2 separate regions of the Homo sapiens genome follow, and region 1 is linked to region 2. Evidence: promoter capture Hi-C in 16 types of primary human blood cells and fetal thymus (Javierre and others, 2016). All regions are on one chromosome and are shown on one strand. Each heading gives the region's core, a stretch centred on a gene start or on the middle of the fragment in contact. The rest is flanking DNA. Distances are from core to core; before and after follow the strand shown. Region 1 has its middle 24 kb from the start of SLC2A3. Region 2 holds the start of DPPA3 (developmental pluripotency associated 3).

Region 1 (2,700 bases), core at 96-2,595, 200 kb after region 2:
TTTTTTTTTTTTTGTTTTTGTTTTTGTTTGAGACAGAGTCTTGCTCTGTCAGCCAGACTGGAGTATAGTGGCATGATCTTAGCTCACTGCAACCTCCAACCTCCGTCTCCCAGGTTCAAGCGATTCTCCTGCCTCAGCCTCTGTAGCAGCTGGGACTACAGGCACGTGCCACCACACCTGGCTAATTTTTGTATTTGTGGTAGAGACAAGGTTTCACCATGTTTGCCAGGCTGGTCTCGAAATCCTGACCTCAAGTGATCCACCTGCCTCAGCCTCCCAAAATGCAGGGATTATAGGCATGAGCCGACGAGCCTGGCCAAGATGTATTATATTTTTTAATACATTGCTAGATATGATATTCTAATAATTTGTTTGCCTCTATATGAATCAATAAAATTGGTCTGCCTGAGACCCTGTCTCAAAAAAAAATTTTTAATAAATAAATAAAAATCTAATGTGATAATCTACTATTATTTGAAAAGCTTATCCCATTATATTTGTTATTGCTTATATAATTAGATTTTTTCCTATCATTCTATTATCTGCTTTCTACTTTGTAATGCTTTTTCTGTTTTCTCTTCCCAAACCCTTTTCTGTTCTTTTAAAGGTAGTTGGTTGTCTGGCCGGGCGTGGTGGCTCACCCCTATAATCCCAGCACTTTGGGAGGCCGAGACGGGTGGATCACCTGAGGTCGGGAGTTCGAGACCAGCCTAACCAACATGGAGAAACCCCGTCTCTACTAAAAATACAAAAAATTAACCAGGCGTGGTGGTGCATGCCTGTAATCCTAGCTACTTGGGAGGATGAGGCAGGAGAATCACTTGAACCCGGCAGGCAGAGGTTGTGGTGAGCCGAGATCGTGCCATTGCACTCCAGCCTGGGCAACAAGAGGGAGATTCCGTCTCAAAAAAAAAAAAGGTAGTTGGTTTGTGTGGTGTGTGTGTGTAATTCTAGCTACTCGAGAGGCTGAGGCGGGAGGATTGCTTGAGCCCAGGAATTCACGTCCAGCTTTGGCAACATAGCAAGATTCCATCTTTTAAAAAAAAAAAAAAAAATTGGTTGGTTTGTTTTTCTTTACGTAGTCTGTTTTTTTCCCCCATGTAAAATATTTGGAATTTATCATCTATAAGGCTTATTCATTTAATAGTGACTGGGTTCAAGCGATTCTACTGCCTCAGCCTCCTGAGTTGCTGGGATTACAGGCGTGCACCACCATGCTAGGCTAATTTTTGTATTTTTAGTAGAAACGGGGTTTCACTGTCTTGGCCAGGCTGATCTCGACCTCCTGACCTCTAGTGATCCACTCGCCTCAGCTTCCCAAAGTGCTGGGATTACAGACGTGAGACACCATGCCCATCCAAATTTTTGGATTTTGTTTTGTTTTGTTTTGTTTTTGGAAATGGAGTTTTGCTCTTGTTGCCCATGCTGGAGTGCAATGGCCTGATCTCAGCTCACTGCAACCTCTGCCTCCCGGGTACAAGTGATTCTCCTGCCTCAGCCTCCCGAGTAGCTGGGATTACAGGTATATGCCACCATGCTCGGCTAATTTTGTATTTTTAGTAGAGACAGGGTTTCACCATGTCGGTCAGGCTGGTCTCAAACTCCTGACCTCAAGTGATCCACCCACCTTGGCCTCCCAAAGTGCTGGTATTACAGGTGTGAGTCACTGTGCCCAGCCTTTTGTATTTTTAGTAGAGACAAGGTTTTGCCATGTTGTCCAGGATGGTCTCGAACTCCTGACATCAGGTGATCCACCCGCCTCAGCCTCCCAAAGTGCTTGGATTACAGACGTGAGCCACTGCGCCTGGCCTCTTATTTTATAATTGACTACTTTGAACTCTGAGTTGAACTGGCATTCCTCCAGAAAAGATTTACATTTGCTTCTCTCAGTTGTTTAGGACCTGTACTAATCTAGAACCGCTTTAAGTTATATTTTCTATTTGTAGATTTTTAGCCACACAGTTAGCATAAAATCAGACAACGACACTGCATGGGGACCAATGTGTAGTTAAGAATTCTTGGCGAGATTTTTTTTTCCTCCTCTGTCCAGCACCAAGGTGAAAAAGCAAAAGAGGACTGCTGTCTTCTTCTGAACCATGGTTTGATCTCTTGTTCATCCTTTATGCAGAGATCTCCTTTTAGACTACCTAGACTTTATCTTGGGCCTCCACACTCCATGAAGCCTTCCTGGGAAAAGTCCAATATCAATGAAGCTTCCCAAATCTATGAAGAAGGAAAAAGCTACAATTTTGTTGTTGTTGTTGTTGTTGTTTTTTGAGACGGAGTCTCGCTTTGTCGCCCAGGCTGGAGTGCAGTGGCACAATCTCGGCTCGCTGCAAGCTCCTCCTCCCAGGTTCACACCATTCTCCTGCCTCAGCCTCCCGAGTAGCTGGGACTACAGGCGCCTGCCACCATGCCCCGCTAATTTTTTGTATTTTTAGTAGAGACGGGGTTTCACCATGTTAGCCAGGATGGTCTCGATCTCCTGACCTCGTGATCCGCCCGCCTCGGCCTCCCAAAGTGCTGGGATTACAGGCATGAGCCACTGCGCCTGGCCAAAAGCTACAATGTTTTAAAAAGAGAGATGATTGAGAATTTTCTAAATATTTGTTGTGTGTACTTACGCTTTTAAAAGTAGAATATAATCACGGCAAAATGTTTATTTTATTTTTGATACAGAGTTTCGCTCTTGTTGCCCAG
Region 2 (2,700 bases), core at 137-2,636:
CCCCTGCAATGGGATTTTTTTGTATTTATCTCTCCAGTGAAATTCTTGCGGACTGATTATCAGAGATTCCCCAGGCAAGAGGGAGATTAGCCAAGAGCTGAACAACAGAAGTAGAAAGTTCACAGTGCCGTAAAGCAGGGCTGCTTAACTTGAGCACCCATCAGAATCACCTGGGGATCACTTCTGGGTCTTCTGGCTAAATGCAGAATTGCCTGGGAGGCTTGTTAAAGCATTACCACTGGGCGCCAGTCTTTGATTCAGTAGGGCTGGTTTGGAGCTCAGAATTTGTATATCTAAGTTAACTAGGTGCTTGTTGTAAACTGCACTTTTTTTTTTTTCCCAAGAGGCAGGGTCCTGCCCTGTCTACCAGGCTGGAGTGCAGTGGCACGATCATAGGTCACTGCAGCCTTTAACTGCTGGGTGATTAAGCGATCCTGGAGACCACACTTTTGAGAATCACTTGCATAAAGTGTTGGGACATGATCTATGCCTATGGCTGCTCATTCTCTATGAAAATATTTCTTAATCATAACTTCAATTTTTGCTTTTTACCAAACCCAAACAAGGTTGCCTTTGAGTATTTTCTCGTGGTTTCCACCTAGAGAGGGAATGGGGGAACGTGCGTATTTGAATAAGACGGGAAAAAGATGAGAGGGGCAGCTGGGGACTTGTTCTTCCACCTCCTGCAGACAATCAGTGGTTAAATGTTGTTGTGCTTTGCTACAAATACAAGCATTTTTTTGTGGGGAGGGAGTAGCAATTTGTAAGGTTAGTTAATTTCAGCTGCTCAGAAATGTTAGGTACTGTTTATAGTTTATAAAGCAAATTAACAAATAAAAAATACATGTCCCTAAAATATCAAGCTATGAAAGTGTTCATAACAGATACTTCTTCATTATTCCTCTCTTCTTAGTAGCAGCAAAGGTTTAAGATGATTGAAGCAAGGAAAACTTAAAGGAAACTTTCTCAGCTTAATTGGGAGTTTATGGGCAGTGGTGGTGGTGGGGCGGGGGCGGTAAAAACTGCCATTCTCCTCTGCACTAGAACACTTAAGCCCAGTTCACAAAACAGAAGCCATCTCCAGGAGTAGAGTTTGGGAAAAAAAAAAAAAAAAAAAAACAAGAAAAAAACAACTTATATGTAAGGCAACCTCAGGGAGACAGAACCACAAAAAGAGGATTTTAATAAATTTTCTAGCAGATATGACATCCGACAGATTATTTTAATGCAAAGCAGATGAAGAACTACCCTATGAGTCTAAACTACACCCATTCACCTTTAATCATTTGGATCCCTTAATCCTCTAATCATGGGATCATTAACATTCAAATATCCTGGAAGATTGGCTTATCTGTATTTTAAAAGGAAGCCGGACCTATAGTTTACGTCAGTTCTTTGACCATTCGTTGGAGCTCCGGTTTTCAGCCTCTTTCCGGGCTACCTGGTAGCAATTTGAGGCTCTGTCATCAGTTTCTGCTACGTTTCAAAGATCCTGGAGAAGCCTAGTGTTGTGTCAAGACGCCGATGGACCCATCACAGTTTAATCCAACCTACATCCCAGGGTCTCCACAAATGCTCACCGAAGAAAATTCCCGGGACGATTCAGGTAAGCCAGATAATGCCCTTCTTGACTATCTGACTATAGGGGGGTTGGGAGGTCAAAAGGCTGCCGTCTTTTTTTTTTTTTTTTTTTTTTTTTTTTTAATGTTGACTTCAGTCTTTGCAAGAGGAATGTATTTAGGTAAACCTCAAACCAGAGGGAGTCAACACAGAGAGGTCAAAGACTTTATTAAAAGCGGTGATGGTGGTGGTGAGAAATGTATTATTTTATTCACTATGCTTAGGAGTACTTCAGATTTCTTTCTTTTTTTTTCTTTTTTTTTTTTTGAGACGGAGTCTTGCTCTGTCGCCCAGGCTGGAGTGCAGTGGCGCGATCTCGGCTCACTCCAAGTTCCGCCTCCTGGGTTCACGCCATTCTCCTGCCTCAGCCTCCCAAGTAGCTGGGACTACAGGCGCCCGCCACCGCGCCCGTTTTTTTTTTTGTATTTTTGGTAGAGACGGGGTTTCACCGTGTTAGCCAGGGTGGTCTTGATCTCCTTACCTCGTGATCCGCCCGCCTCGGCCTCCCAAAGTACTGGGATTACAGGCTTGAGCCACTGCGCCCGGCCAGTACTTCAGATTTCTAAGACCAGTTTCTGGGGATAAATAATTGGAATCACAGAACGCGGCTCGTAGCGTCGTTGCATCAGTATCTTCCCCAACAGCAAATACATGTCAGGAACGGTAAAAAGGAACAAATACAGAGACCAAATAAACAAAAGATAGGGAAAAAAAATGAAACAATATGAGAAACTTTAACTTCAGTTGAACCTAAAGTTTTTCTTAATCTCTCGCCAACATTATTTTTATTTATATATTTTTTTGAGACGGAGTCTCTGTCGCCCGGGCTGGAGTGCAGTGGCGCGGTGTCGGCTCACTGCAACCTCCGCCTCTCGGGTTCAAGCAATTCTCCTGTCTCAGCCTCCAAAGTAGCTGGATTACAGGCATGTGCCACCACGCCCGGCTAATCTTTTGTATTTTTAGTAGAGACAGGGTTTCACTATGTTGGCCAGACTGGTCTCGATCTCCTGACGTCGTGATCCGCCCACCTCTGCCTCCCAAAGTGCTGGGATTACAGGCGTAAGCCAGCGCGCCCGTCCT

Evidence for each region. Contacts are between HindIII fragments. The CHiCAGO score rates a contact against its expected background, and 5 or more counts as called.
Region 1: a fragment that was not itself captured here is called in contact with the fragment with the promoter of DPPA3 in region 2 in 1 of 17 cell types (M1 macrophages); the score reaches 5.5 in M1 macrophages.

The regions. Positions count from the first base shown.
Region 1 is chr12:7,910,989-7,913,688 of GRCh38, forward strand. No RefSeq gene overlaps it. Among named protein-coding and RNA genes, the nearest start is that of SLC2A3, 24 kb to the right of the region's middle. RefSeq lists an enhancer at 1,904-2,700. The HindIII fragment of the contact is 1,731 bases long and covers 481-2,211 here.
Region 2 is chr12:7,710,047-7,712,746 of GRCh38, forward strand. It overlaps DPPA3 (developmental pluripotency associated 3), which reads left to right and starts at 1,387. Exons shown (of 4, transcript NM_199286.4): 1 at 1,387-1,606. The coding sequence starts at 1,525. The HindIII fragment of the contact is 13,723 bases long and covers 1-2,700 here.